Linked DNA regions of Homo sapiens: all the other regions are linked to region 2. The links are contacts of gene promoters, found by promoter capture Hi-C in human tissues and cell types (Jung and others, 2019). All regions are on one chromosome and are shown on one strand. The core of a region is centred on a gene start or on the middle of the fragment in contact, and the rest is flanking DNA. Distances in the headings are between cores, read along the strand shown.

What was found. Contacts are between HindIII fragments. The study calls those that stand out against the background at their distance.
Region 1: a contact is called between a fragment that was not itself captured here and the fragment with the promoter of DMRT2 in region 2, in 2 of the 25 tissues and cell types used here (H1 embryonic stem cells and lymphoblastoid cells).
Region 3: a contact is called between a fragment that was not itself captured here and the fragment with the promoter of DMRT2 in region 2, in 2 of the 25 tissues and cell types used here (dorsolateral prefrontal cortex and mesenchymal stem cells).
Region 4: a contact is called between a fragment that was not itself captured here and the fragment with the promoter of DMRT2 in region 2, in 1 of the 25 tissues and cell types used here (hippocampus).

The regions. Positions count from the first base shown.
Region 1 is chr9:1,608,639-1,613,111 of GRCh38, reverse strand. No RefSeq gene overlaps it. Among named protein-coding and RNA genes, the nearest start is that of SMARCA2, 400 kb to the left of the region's middle. The HindIII fragment of the contact is 5,656 bases long and covers 1-4,473 here.
Region 2 is chr9:1,049,107-1,051,606 of GRCh38, reverse strand. It overlaps DMRT2 (doublesex and mab-3 related transcription factor 2), which reads right to left and starts at 1,250. Exons shown (of 4, transcript NM_181872.6): 1 at 832-1,250; 2 at 1-37. RefSeq lists an enhancer at 609-1,478. The HindIII fragment of the contact is 14,990 bases long and covers 1-2,500 here.
Region 3 is chr9:1,942,290-1,946,451 of GRCh38, reverse strand. All of the region lies in intron 2 of LOC105375951 (a long non-coding RNA gene), which reads right to left. Among named protein-coding and RNA genes, the nearest start is that of SMARCA2, 71 kb to the left of the region's middle. The HindIII fragment of the contact is 4,864 bases long and covers 1-4,035 here.
Region 4 is chr9:2,007,739-2,012,129 of GRCh38, reverse strand. No RefSeq gene overlaps it. Among named protein-coding and RNA genes, the nearest start is that of SMARCA2, 5.4 kb to the left of the region's middle. The HindIII fragment of the contact is 5,967 bases long and covers 1-4,391 here.

The DNA.
Region 1 (4,473 bases), core at 815-3,314, 560 kb before region 2:
AAAATAGAAAAACTAGCCAGGCATGGTGACGCAATCCTGTAGTTCCAGAAACTCAGGAAGCTGAGGTGGGAAGATCACCTGAGCCTTGGGAGGTTGAGGTTGCAGTGAGCCATGGTTGCACCACTGCACTCCAGCCTGAGCAACAGAGTGAAACCCTGCCTTAAAAAAAAAAAAAAAGACAGAGAGATAATAATACCAGTTATGTGAAATTTTGAAAGGCACAATATAGCACTATACATGTATATTTTAAGAATAAACGTGTGGAAGTAAAAAACGTATGCACTAGAATGACATATGTCAACTTCAGGACAGTATTTACCCCTGGGGAGGAGGGAATTCGGAGGAGTGTTCTAGGGCTTCAGTTACATTTGTAATGCAATATTTTCTTATAAGAAAAATGATTTGAAGCTCATATGTAGACAAAAAATATTAAATTTGGGTGGTAGGTACACTGGTGTCTGTATACTGTTTTCTATAGTTCTCAGTATGTTTAAAATTAAAAGTATGTTTCATAATTAAAAAAACAAATTTGATACTCTTTGAAATACTGAGAAAAGGAAGTTATGAGTTAATTCTGGGAATCTGGGAATTATTCTTCCAGAGCTGAGGATACTAAAAATGTAGTAAAATGCTAAGTCTCACCCTGTATCTCTTATAGGCTTCATACTTCCTATTCAAATTGCTGCGCTGAGATACATGGCAGTCTCTAACTTCCCTAACCCTTTTCTGTTCCCCTTCACCCTCAGCTCCCTCTAATCAATGGAATTGACCATTGGTCACCCTCAAGCTCAGGCAAAGCCAGTTCCCAATTCTTAACATGGACATTACACAATACACAAGGAAAGAAAGGAAGATAGTTTCCTTACAAAGGATATAGAGCAAACTCAAAGAAAGGAAGGAGATAATATCATAAAATAGAAAGTCCAGGAAGAACTTTAACAATTACTTTGTATGGTCCTAATTTTACAAAGAGGAAATTCTTACAGAGAAGAAGGACTTTTCTCAGTTGCAATAGCTAATTCATAGTGAAGTTTGGACACAGGAGAGCTCTCAGCCTCCCAGTCTAGGAATTTTTTACTGCTGCACCCATGTAACTAATAGAATTTTCCAGTTATAACAGAATCTTGGGATTACCTAGTCCATATCCCTTATACTTCAAGTACGAGAACAAAGACTTCCAAGAATACATTCATGGAAGACTTTAAGAATCGCCAAGTCAGCTTCATTCACACTGTAAGATACAGTGTTAACAAATTTAAGAATCTCATTCTTGAATATAAAAATAGCCCAGTCACTTAATCTGAAAATCAATAGTGGAATCAATTCTGAGAACTGTTGGGTCATCTAATTTGAGACGCTTATATCTGCACATCTTGTACTCTCTGTTGGGTGGCTTTCTCCATCTTCTTTGTCTAGAGAAATACTGTTCATCTATTCATCTACTACTTCCTTTGAGGAGTCTCTCCTGTCCTGCCAACACTGAATTGGTCTCCCTTTTTTTTATGCCTATGTAAGTTTTATAAGTGAATAAAAATAAAATGTTATAAGGGCTATCATATAATTTTATCATCTCTCGCTTGATGACAATTTTCTTGGGACTCAGCAGCATACCTGGTTAATCTCTGAAAAGTAATGCATGGTCAACAAATATTTTTGAATAAATTAAAGCAATAATGATTCACTCTAAATGTATGTATATTTCCTAAACGTGGATTTCGTCTTATGACTGACTCCAAAATCCTAAGATCAAAATTCCTATCACAAAATTTCCCATAGAGTGTATCATGAAACTTTGAAGCACTTTGGCAGGACATTCTTCAGTCATGAGTTGGGCAAAGATGGAATAGTCTACCTCTGAAAGCAGTAAATTTCCCATTGATTGGAAATGTTTAAAGACAGAATAGACAACAGCTTGGAAGGGGTGTCTTAGAGAAAATTCTGATTTCCTTTGGATGAGAACACTGGATTAGAGGTTGGACTAGATGTCTTCCAATAGTCCTAATTAGGACATTTCGTAAGACTCAGATTGTTTGTAGAGGGACTCGTCTATCAGTTGAGTCAATCATTCACTAGTGGGGAGAGACACAGAGTGGGAGACACAGGCAAGTAGCTTTGAGGAACTCAGCCTAACAGAGAAAATCACTCAGTCCTTTCAGCAGTAACACCAACAAGAGGGAGCCCACTTGTACTGGGTTGTCCAAAGTGGCAGCATGAAGTTAAGGGAATGTTTTGCAAATACCATGGCAATGGTAGAAAGAACATTCTCACAACTAAAATAATCTAAATTTACCTAACAATGGAATAAATTCCTTTGTGCAGGCATGGGTACCCCTACTCAGGTATTGTAGTGAAGAGTTCAGATGACCAACTGAGATGAGATCAGGTGAATTTTTTTTTTTTTTTTTTTTTGAGACGGGGTCTCCCTTTGTCTCCCAGGCTAGAGTGCAGTGGCTCGATCTCCGCTTACTGCAACCTCCGCCTCCCAGGCTCAAGCGATTCTCCTGCCTCAGCCTCATGTGTAGCTGGGATTACAGGCGCGTGCCACCACACCTGGCTAATTTTTTTTTTTTTTTTAAGTAGAGATGGGGTTTCAGCATGTTTGTCAGGCTGGTCTTGAACCCCTGACCTCATGATCCACCTGCCTCAGCCTCCCAAAGTGCTGGGATTACAGGCATGAGCCACGGCGCCGAGATTGGGTGAATTTTTAACCTCATTGAAAGGCTGGATTATATTTAGGGTGTCCATGCATCTCAGTTTTCCCAGGACAGTTCTAGTTTACATGTTTCCCTAGCATAATTATTAGTTCTACCCCATTTCGCTATCAAAAATGTCCCAGTTTGGAAGATAAATCATATAGTCACTCTAGTTATATTAAATGACTTTAAAGTCCCTTTCAACTTTAATTATCTTGCTCAGTGTTTTGCTTAGGAGTGGGAGATTTATAAAATAAAGAACATCTCAGCTGGACTAGAGGAGGATATTTTATTTTTAATTTTTGTGGGTACATAGTTGTATATATTTATGGGCTACATAAGGTATTTTGATATAGGCATGCAATGCATGATAATTACATCATGTAAATGGGGTATTTGTTGCTAGCAGAGGAGATTTTAGGCAGAAGGAGACATTCCCCAATATTCCACTGAATTTTCTCTTCCATCCTACAACTCCAAATATCACTATAGTGGAAAGTCCTCAAACTTCTGCTGAGAGGCTTTGGGTATGTGTCAAAGTCTTGAATTTTCACCTCCTCTGTGGAGACCAGCTCTTTGATGTCCTACAGACATCTCCAATGCAACAGAATTTGCATAGTTTTGAGGAAAAATATCATCAAAGTTCATTAAAAGTATCTTTCCTAAAAATTCACGCTTTTCATAAGAAAAATTCATATGTATATAATAAAATTAAAAATTATATACATGTGTTAACATTTTGTATTGATTTATAACAAAATTCATGTAAAGCTTCTTGATCTTATCACAAAACCAAGGAGTTATATATAGTGAGAATATACTATGCTAAATCTCACACTGTAATGAAAAGTTGCCATTCTTAGCCTGGTCCTGTTTGCCAATACTGTTTTCCTTCTCAATAAATATTTAAATGAAAATGGAGTCTTCAAAGGGAAAAGTGTGTGGGTGCTTGAAGTTTATATTTTCGTGTCTCTGATAAATGCTAGTGAATATCAGAGCTGAGGAAGGGTCACAGACTTTGACACATACCCAAAGCCTTGTCATAACTGTCTCTAGAGTGTCCACAGGTAAGTTAGAGAATATCTATTGGGAAAATGTAAACAAAGCTAGTGGTCACAGCACAATAAATTTTTTGGAGTAACCCTAATGAATTATGAGGAAAAGGAATCAGAAACTGGCCCAACTTAACTTTGCATTGAAGCATTCAGCATTACAGGAGGCCATCTGGTGTAACATCTCCTGTCCCAGAGAGTCTACAATTTTAATGGTGCTCAGAATCAGAAACACTTAGAACTGTTGAAAGGCCTGAGTTTATAGCCCAGTTCTGGAAATGTGGTCCAAAAACTGATAGCATTCAGCATCACCTGGATGCTCCTTGGAAATGCAGAATCTTGGGCTCCACCCCAGACTTGCTGAACCAGCATCTGCATTCTGGCAACATCTTAGGTAATTCATATGCACTTTAAAGTATGAGAAACACTGATCTAGCACACTCATCCAGCCAAAGCCTACAGGACTGGAATTTGATCTGGGCTGTTCCAGTCACTGTAACACTTAAGTTGCAGAATTAAACCAAACACACGACTGACACAGAGTGGGTAAACCCTGTGTGTTAATTTCCCTGCTCATCCTGTACAAAATCTTGTTCAGTCCTGGTCAGCCCCCAAGAATGGACTGGTTTACCATTTCCTCCCACTCCTTTTAGCTTAAATGGGTACCCTTCATTCTTAGAAAACATCCACAAACTTTGGCCCAGAAAGGCCTTCTTGGTCCATGACGC
Region 2 (2,500 bases), core at 1-2,500:
GGGGCTTCGCTGGGGCCTGAGCCTGGCGGCCCTCACTCTGGGGAAACACAAAGAAATCCAAAGACCCACCGGCCGCCGTCAGGGACCATCCCTGAGCCTCCGGCCCAAAGCTCCTGGTCTGCCCGCCTCCGGCCGCTTGAGTCATCCTGTTCTCATTACATGTCCCTCACTTCCAGGCCACACGTGCCTTTCCTGTATCTCCAGGGCCCCCAGGGATCCACAACCCAACAAAGGTTTTATTTTATTAATTCTAAGTGCTCTGTGAGTACCTGACCTTTAACCGTGGCCCTCTCTGGCTTTACACGGGCTTTCCGGACAAGTCCCTGGGTAACTCACTTATCACACACACACAAAATATTGTGTCCAAATAGGCAGCCCCAGGCCACTTGTCGGATTTCCCCATACTCAACTAGTATGGCCATGATGCATATAAAACTATCCGTGGAAGAACAGTTTTCCTTTGATTACAAGTGGCCCTTCAGACTCACTGAAGTACCACTCTATGCTTCCCAAATGCCTCTCATCAGCCTACACCACCACAAGGACCCCTCCTTGGGCTTGAAGAGGTCCTCTCACCCCCCTCCCCAAAATACTCAACTGAAAACCAAAATTTTGTTGTCATTAGCGTCCCATAAGGGCAAAGAGCACAATACAGACGCCCGTCCAGCCTTAATAGTACCTGAGGTGCACAGGGCTGAGCCGCGTGGGCTCTCTGTACTTAGGCCTTGGTTTATATATTTAAGGTAAGGCATCCAAGTCACACAGAAAAGGTGAAAGATGATTCACGCCCTTTGCCCTCCCTGACACCCCGAGCGGCATCACAGCACTCACCAAAACTTTGAGGCCCGGGCTGGTAGCCCAGTTAAAAGATATCCAGCTTTAGGATCTGGCGCTAGGGCTGCTGGCTGTGCATGCAAACAGAAATCGGGGTCGCTACCCTCAAACACGAGATCGGGAGCTGATAGCTGGAGGCCCGGAACGAACCCACTGGATGGTGGAGGGGGAGGGAGAAGGTAGGTGGAGGGAAGGAGGGAGGAAGCCAGTCAAGTCCTCAGCGACCTAGCCCAGCACATCCCGAACTCTGCAAAGTTCTGCTCGGTCTTCTGCAGCCTCGGGCGCCTCACCTTGCTGAGGCCGCTTTCGGCTTCCTCTGACCCAGGCTGGGCGGGAAAGGTCGGGCCGCCCCCGCCTGGCTCAGATCGCTGGCTCACCCGGCGGGCGCGCGCAGTTGCATTCAGCGCAGCGCCACTGGCTTCAGTCTGCAGACTGCGCTCCCCTTCCTAGTACTGTCCGCTCAGGCCCCGGAGCTTTACGTCCTCTGATTGGCCGGTTGTCAGGCGGTGTGAATACTGATTGGCCGAGGCACGCTGGCAGGGAGCCCTCCGCCTCCCGCGGTCTACACTCTTCTCTCTGAAGCGCTCCGCCAGAGTCCGCCTACCGGGCCTTCGGTGCAGCCGGCTCGCCTGTCCAGAATCTAAACCCGAGGTATGACGGTGCCTGCAAGAGAGAAGTCACCATTTATCTCGCGGACTGGGAAACAAGCAGAGATACATTCTTAGGAATGCGTTGTCCACAAGAGAAGGTAATAAACGACGAGGAAGAGATCAGAAAGACCAGTATTGGCCTCTATCAGCATCACAAGCATTTCTGCGACTCAATCAATCATTAATCCAAACTGGGCGTAAAAATGATGCCTCTCTTTCGGGGCGTACAGCGACATCCTTCTTTCTCCTGCAAGAGTACATCAATGGTTACCTGGCACCGAAACTCCTAGTTAGCATACAAATAGCCTGTTGATATTTCTGTGTCTAGTGCCACCTATTCTCGAAGTGCCAAATAGCTCCTCATTAACCTTCACCGAGCCCGTGTGGCAGGTGGCCAAGTCGACTACAAGTCACTTACATTTTTCTGTTATATCAGTTGCTATTACAGTTAATGTAGGGAAGATCAGAAATGCATGCTATTAAGAGAATTAGGTAAATCCATTCACACTAAGCATGCATTTAAACAAAGTTATTTTTAAAAAGATGACTACTTTTTAGTGTGCGTAGTTGTATTTATAGACTTTCTAACGACTCCCTCAAAAAATCCTTTACAAAATGTTTAACGATAAAAAATTTTCAACATATTAAAAGAAGGAATTAGTCTTCTAATTCAACGCTGCATTCTATTTCTTGAACTCAATTAAAAATAATATGGGCGCTTTTCTAACTGCATCTGTAAATAATCAAGACCTCTCGAGTAGGATCTGTTTAGGAGACTACAAAATTGGGTATCATTGCACTGAGTACATAGTAGGCCCGCAACAAATATTTGTTGAAGGGTGGGAATTCCTGACGTAATCCCAACGTTACTTTTGTCCGAGTTTGTCAGAATGTTAAAAGTTAACCTGGATCAGAGAAGTGGGAACAAAGGCAGCTTAGGAACTACCGCGACCAGCCAGAAGCACTATTCTCAAACCTTCAGTGATGTTGTAAAGTTCCTCCCCGGTGACCAGGCA
Region 3 (4,162 bases), core at 354-2,853, 890 kb before region 2:
TACTTTCAAATGTAGCTCAGGCCACAAAGCAGGGGTTGGTGATCCAGTCCACACTTTGTATTAAGAATTAAGTATTTCTGGTGAACAGTGAGCCAATAAGTAAACAAACAACATTTTGGGAGATGCAGAATAGACAGGGAAATAAAATGTATAGTAATGAAATATTCATAACCTTGCATTTTATGGACCTCAAACACTAGTTCCGTGATTTACCCTATTTCTGTATGCAGTAGTATGCGATCTGGCGAACAATAATAAAGATGGCATTAGAATGCTACTGCCTCAGTGTCATGGAGAAGGGAGGATTAATCAGTACTGTACGATAGCTGTAAACTTGAGTAAATAGAAGCACATATAGGTAGTTGCTTTCCTGCACACTTTATGTTTGGCCCATGGAAATGGGGGAGATGAGAAATAAAGTAATTATGAAAATGATGAGCATCAGCACCCAGCTTCACATAAATAAACACATCATTCTCTCAGGTCCTGGTTGCTCAGGGGTGCTGGTTCACACCAGCTGCTCCCAAGAGAATGTAGTGGTCATTATTTCACATCAAGAGTCATCTTTGCAGAGCTCTTGGCCCACTTTACCCCTAAATTCAAAATACTGTACTCTGTACCTAGTAGTCTCCTTACATAGGAAATAGTGGCCCAGTGTCTGTCTGGCTTTTGGCCTCACCCACTGTCAGAGGTCTGATCAGAAGGGACATGGAAATGCTGAATAAAACCTGGGAGGAAAAGACAGTCATACCATCTTGCTTCAAAGAATATCTCATGCATTCCTGCTTCATACCTGTCCCTTCATTTTTGAGCCAACCTCAAATTGCTGGTATTTACTATTTGTCCCAGATTTCATAGGCATAGTTGGCCTTTAGCCTGACCAGCGCTTCTGCCATGGTGTCTTCCTCCTTAGCAGGTCTGGTTTTGCTCCCATTTTGACTGAGGAGCTGTATATCACACTTGTTTGGTGCTGATAGTGCCCTTTGCTGAGATGAAACTATAGTAACAGGGCAATGCTCCATGAAAACTACTACATTATCTTTGCAATTTTCCTGTGTCTTGCAGACTTGTAAGTACTCTGCCAATCACTGGGTTCCTATTCTCCACACCCCCACTCCTTTTATAAATGAACAAAATTGCTTAACCATTAACATGCCTCTGAAGTATAAGCCTAGTACTCAGAATTGATCAGCTAAACTTCCCATGGGGCAAGCTTAAATGATTTTCATTAAAATTCTAGCATTGATCTTTTGATATTTACCTTGTCATGGTAAGTCACCATCTCTTCCATTTTCCTTAACAAGACAACACAGTAAGCCAAATATTCTTCAGTTATGTATTAATATTTTGAGGAGTATGACTTAGCATGCCTTTATTTCTTAACTAGACTTATGAGATACACTTACTGCTTCAGGACTGAAAGCGCACTTAAAAACCTTTCAAATGTGCAAATTATCTATTCCAGAGAGAACCAGAAATTATACCCCTATGGGTGACAAATATGCATAATCAATAGATTAACTGTAAGCCTTGGGGAATAAGTTGTTTTATGACCCTTGCTAATTCTCTATTTTCATCACTCAAAACTGGAAGTATAGTGATGAGCACAGAGTAGCAATAATAGGTTCTCGGTAAATGTTGAAGTGGATGAATGAATTCCATGGTCTTGGTGAATTTTTTTTTACCCCAAGACATGATGAGGTTGGATGTCGTGTTCTTACAGAGAAATCAATCCAAGATGGGATATATTATCAAGAGTGAGTTAAAGGACACTTAAATTAATTAAAACAAAGTATTTAATTGGCTTTTCCATATGCATACCTTGTCCCAGGATATATTTCCTTTTTCTATTCTTGTGTCTTCCTCTTCAAAGTTCTGGTAGATATTTTTACTTGGAATCTTCAAGTATACTCTTCTCTACCATCTATCATGGAAAATAGGGTTGCAGGCAGAACCGGGGCAGCATTTGCTCAATTCTAATTTCTGAATTTTCCTATATCATATGTGTGTGTGTGTATATATATATATTATATATATACACATATATATTATATATATACATATATATTATATATATATTATATACACATATATAATATACATACATATATATTATATATACATATATAATATATATACATACATATATATTATATATACATATATATAATATATATACATACATATATATTATATATACATATATATTATATATATACATATATATTACATATATTTTATATATACATGTATATCTGATGTGACACAAAAGAATAAGCAAGGCAGTAAACTGAAGTTCTGTGAAGCAATTGCCTGATTTTATTCTAAGCTTTAAAAGAAGATAAACTTATAATATTTTGGTCCAGAGGATTCCAATGAATTGACAGCGTTCAATGATTAAAAATGGTGAAGGGTAAATAAATCATTAAAAGTAATGACAGAAAACATCGCCTACCTTGGGAAACAAATGATGTGAGTCATCTCGTTACTTATGAAAAGCAACCCATTAGTGAATCATGAGTATCATCTGAGACACAGACTCTTCATTTGGGCTGCAGAATTGGTTCTAAACTCATCAAATTAGACGGATGCTCCCAGCCACACAATTCTGTCAACTTGTTCATTCAGGGCTTTTATGCTCCCTGTGAATATTGTCTAAAACAGTCCTTAAAAGGGCCGTACAGGTACTTTATTTCCAGAACGGTAATAATAGTAGGTCCCTAAATGAAGTTTTAGAGATACTAAGTTGCAAACTCTACCCTTTTCTTTTCTTTCACCTCCCACTGGCAACCTTATAAATGTTTCACTCCATAACATTTTGGTCTAAGTTGGATAAAACATACCTTCCTAGGGTTCTCTATTTGCTAATAGAAAAGGAGCCGAGTGTTGCCACTGAACTTGCTGGGAAGTGCTTTGACTTCAGGTGAGCTCACAATCAGCTTAGCACCGCAGTGCTGTGATTTGGGTCATAATTAAAAGATTTTACTATAGAAAATGACCGTGCTGTTTGCACATTCCTTTCATGTCCTTCAGGAAGAATGACATCAAGCACTTACTTGCCTTTTATATACTTTTTTTAAGGTAGCATAGTGAAATAGGAAAAGCCAAGGTTGTAAAAAATAGACCTAGCTCCAAATCCTGGCATTGGCAATTAGGAACTTTGTGAACTGGGCAAATTACTTAACATCGTTGAGCTCTGGTTTCTTCAAGTGTGCAATGCACCAATAACACCAGCCTTGCAAGATTCTTATATGGATTAAATTAAATTAAATATTTAAAGCATTTGGTATTTTGTAGGCATTTATTAAATGTTGTTTATCATCGTTATACCTTCTATTATCTCTTTCTAAATTTCTATTTCCTCCAATAGTATGCTCCTCTGTGAAATTGTGTGATTATGTCAGGTTCTAAACAATTTGATAAAAGCTTATAAGAGTTAATGAGCTCAGTGAGCTCATTTTTTTTTTTTTTTTTTTTTTTTGAGACAGAGTCTTGCTCCGTTACCTAGGGTGGAGTGCAGTGGCGCTATCTCTTCTCACTGCAACTTCCATCTCCTGGGTTCAAGCTATCCTCCTGCCTCAGCCTTCCAAGTAGCTGGGAATCACAGGCGCCCACCACCACGGCCGGCGAATTTTTGTATTTTTAATAGAGATGGGGTTTCGCCATATTAGTCAGGCTGGTCTCAAACTTCTGACCTCAGGGGATCCACCCACCTTGGCCTCCCAAAGTGTTGGGATTACAGGCGTGAGCCACCGCATCCAGCCTCATTTTTCTTTCAATCATGGAATGCTGAAAGGATTCCCCCTCCATGAAGAATTTCCTATTTTTCTATGGGAAATTCTCCCCATGAGCTATTCTAGCACTTTGCTTTCATATCTGTTTTATTAATAATTTAAGTATACATTGTGTTATAGTCTGTGGATTACATGACTGTCTCTGATATATTAGAAGTTCCTTGAGGAAGGCCCAAATTTATTTTTGCCATAGACAATAACACCATGTTTGGGGTCCCCAATATATATATTGACTTGGATAAAGAATGCAATAAGGTACTCTCAAGGACTTGGAAAAGGAAAGAAAATTCATTGTAATTCACTCTCCAGTTTTGCTCTGCAATGGCACGTAGCTCATTTGGAGAATTGACCCAAAGATACATTATTCA
Region 4 (4,391 bases), core at 453-2,952, 960 kb before region 2:
AGAATTAACAAGTAAATTTATTACAGAAATAAACACTCCTCTCTCTCCTTTTTTCTTTTTTTCCTTTTTGAGTCAGAGTCTCGCTCTATTGCCCAGGCTGGAGTGCAGTGGCGGGATCTTGGCTCACTGCAACCGCCGCCTCCCAGGTTCAAGGGATTCTCGAACCTCAGCTTCTCGATTAGCTGGGATTACAGGTGCCCGCCACCATATCCAGCTAATTTTTGTATTTTTTGTAGAGACAGGGTTTCACCATGTTGGCCAGGCTGATCTGGAACTCCTGAACTCAAGTGATCCACCCGCCTCTGCCTCCCAAAGTGCTAGGATTACAGGGGTGAGTCACCACACCCCGCTCTCTCTTTTTTTTCTAATGGGCATGTTCAATAAATTATGTTTTTCACAATCATTCCCCCAAAATACCACCCCCAATTCTCTTTATGATTATATCGTTCTTTAGCTTAAAATCCTTTGTCTATTCCCAATCCATTTTACGGTAAGTTTCAAACTTCTTGGCATGTTATCCTAGGCTGTGCATAGACAGGTCTCTACCAGCGTTGTTGACCCTGCCGCCAAAAATGCCTGGGCTCAGGGAAAACCTGTCTACCGTTTGGTTCCTAAGTGACCACATTGGACATTCTCCCCTCTGACTGAAGTGCAGATCCTCAACCCACATCCTCAAAACTCAACTATGACCCAGAATCCTTCTAGTGGTCTTCCCTGTTCTCCCCAGGCAGAGGAAGCTGCTTGTCCTACTCTGCTCCCATAGCAACCGGTGTGCGCCTCCATTATAGCACTTATCACTTTGATGCAATTATTTGTTTGGTGTTGTCCTCTAGATGGTTAGTGCCTGGAGGGTGTTTCGATTCATCTTTGAAACCTCAGCAATTACCCTGATACCTAGCACATTGTATTTAAAAAAAGAAAAGAAAAAAAAACTTTGTTGAAGGAAAGGATGAGAGATAGATAATAAAATTACCTGACATAGAAAATTTAGCCGGTCTTCACTATTAGTAATTATCATGTTAATGAACAACATCAGTAAGTGTTCCGAATCTTTACAGTATCTGCCAAGGCTTGAAAACGCTTGGAAAATGTGTTTGGTTTTTGTTTGGTTTTGTTTTGTTTTGTTTTGGGGAGGGGGGATGTGGGAAGATGAGGAGAAGCTACAGCTCTTGTAGTCATAGAAAGAGCACCGACAAGAGGTTTTGTTTGTTTTTAAATTAGGCTAGGAGTAACATGAATGCATACATGGCAATTGTTTAATACAGTAGTCACAATTATAATTGCAGCTCCTTTTTATTTCTCTTTTAAATTACATGCCTGAAGTTGTACAGAGACTTGTACATATGTTGTTTAATCCATTTAACCCTACGAGATCTATGACTTCATCTCCATTTTACAGGTGAGGAAACTGAGAATCAGGAAGTAATTTGCCTAAGGCAGGGATCTCCAAAGCGGAGTGACCAAGACAATTTACTGTGAAATAGGAAGAACAGAAGAAAATCTGTTTCTTTTTTCTTTAATAATTGAAAAAAGTAATGATGCAAGGACAAAAAAGAGCTTTATGTATATTTATTATACTCATTGACCCTTGACCCTAGAGTGTTTTACATGGTCCCTAAGTAAACTGGTCATGTGTCATGTAGTGTAGCTGAAGAGTACTGAAAAACAAAAAGCGCCACAGGCAGAGGGGTGATACTGGCACCTTCTGGTTCTTTCATTGTCATTGACATCTTTTTAAGCATTGATATTGCCTTAATTTTACAGGTTCCACGTTAAATAAATTCTTAAGATTATATCATCTAGTTTTTTTTTTTGTTTGTCTTTGTTTTTGTTTTTGTTTTTTGAGACAGATCTCGCTCTGTTGCCCAGGCTGGAGTGCAGTGGCTTGATCTCTGCTCACTGCAAGCTCCGCCTCCCGGGTTCACGCCATTCTCCCGCCTCAGCCTCCCGAGTACCTGGGACTACAGGCGCCCGCCACCACGCCCGGCTAATTTTTTGTATTTTTAGTAGAGACGGGGTTTCACCGTGTTAGCCAGGTTGGTCTCGATCTCCTGACCTCGTGATCCGCCCACCTCAGCCTCTCAAAGTGCTGGGATTACAGGCGTGAGCCACCGTGCCCGGCCTATATCAATCAACTCTCTTATTTGGGGAGCACGTGGCTTAAAAAACAATTTCTGTGAGGAAATAGAAAATTGAGATAATACCAATAATATAAGCACAGGTGAAAATCAGGATCAAATTTGCCAGTTTAACCTCTGAGAACTCTTTTCCAGCCAAATTGAGGACTAAAACAATGACAGCCTAATGAGATCTAACAAGAAATAGGTCAGGCCGGGCGCTGTGGCTCACGCCTGTAATCCCAGCACTTTGGGAGGCCGAGGCGGGCGGATTACCTGAGGTAAGGAGTTCGAGATCAGCCTGGGCAATACGGTGAAACCCTGTCTCTACCAAAAATACAAAATCAGCCGGGCGTGGTGACACACGTCTGTAATTCCAGCTACTCGGGAGGCTGAGGCAGGAGAATCGCTTGAGCCTGAGAGGCAGAGGATGCGGTGAGCCAAGATCACGCCATTGCACTCCAGCCTGGGCAACAAGAGTAAATCTCCATCTCCCCCCAAAAAAAAAGAAGAGAAAAAAAAGAAATAGGTCAAAAACATTCATAATTTTCCAGGACTATTTGAAATTTGGATTTATATTAACTTTCATAAATGATTAATTCTGTTCTAAGCATGTATGTTTCCTTGAGATACTATTGATTGTATGATAGCATGCTTAGCAAGATAATTGAAAATTTTCTATTCATCTTATTCTTTTACAATTTTTATTTTGTGTATGTTTTATAATGCACATAATATATTAATAATGAATACATGTGTTATGAGTAAATATACATAAATCATGCTCTATCTTTTTTTTTTTTTTTTTTTTTTTTTTTTTTGCTTTTTAACTGTAAGGGGTATGTGATTAAACAACTTGGAGATGACTAAATGATGAAGTCAGAATTTTTAACTAAGCTTGGTAGAACTCCACACTCAAGAGTAATCTGTGTTGCTCATGTAAAAACTGCCCCAAAATTTGTCATCAGTACAGGGTTCTTAATCCGTGATGGAGGGTTGATGGGGGTGGAATACAAATGATCTTTGGAACATCTAAGAATCCCCTGAAACTGTGTTCAAAATCCTAGGATCGTGTTAATGTATGCTTTCTGCAGACAGAGTCTGTACATTTCATCAGATTCTCAAGGGGATCTTCCCGGAAAGGGGTAAGAGTCATTGACCCAGAGGTATCAGCAGCCTCAATAACCTAGGATAATTTTCTGGTAAGAAATTAATCCTCTCCATAACTTTTATAAAACTAAGTGTGCACATTTTGTATATCCAAACATATCTACCCTTTAAAATCCTAATTCAGTGTTTCTTTAGGTAAACCAAATGCATTCTAACTGCCCAAAGAAGGACTCCATTTATCTCCAGAGATGGGCTTTCTGAGGATAAGTTTATTCTAAAGCATTTCCTCAATAATACTGCATTATATATTGTTGACTAGACTAGAAAGAATTTTTTGTGTTGTCATCAATATATCTTTGAGGTTTTGACACATCTTTGGGCAGTTGTACATGAGGAATCAGAACATGAATTCAGGTTCTCAAATTTTCTGTCGTAAATTGTTCAGATATTTTCACTTTTGTTTGGCCATTGTACCTGCTACCCTTTGTTCTGTGCTGTGCTTCTCTGATTGATAATGTGCTTCGGTACCAATGTAACACTGTAGCTTACCTCTAAGCCCCTCAGCTAAATCCATATATTCATCTCCCATGCTGTTATATGATATTTTATTATAGTATTTTACTTTTTGACCACCTTCAGCTGTTATTGGGCTTATCTTTTCAGTTACTATTCATTGCTTTTTGTTGGTGTGTGACCCTTTTCCAGCTTGGCTTATGTTATGTCACCCACCAGATTCTTACTTCAAGTTCAGTACACAAAAGCACAATTCACTATTGTCTTTTTTCAGTCCTGTTTTCTACACTTGAAGTTCTATGTAAATTCAAGAGATGAGTAGAAAATAAGCCAGGAATATATCAAAGCAGATACAGCTATTGAAATTATATTAGATGACTCTTTAAAAACCCAAAATAAATATTCTGCTTTGGAGAAAAATAAAGTTAGTTTCTCCACAGGTAGGGACAAAATACATTCCACAACGGTATGACTTTATTTTAGTTTTCAATGGTGTTACCAGCCAGAAAGTAATGAATATATAAAACAAATATAAGAAGTTTCAGGAAAGGGTTGCAAGCATCTGGATTCTGCATGGGGCAAGGTTTAATGCTAGGCAGGAAACTTTTATCTCCCCTCCAGATAAACTCAACTGAACAGTCACTGACTTCA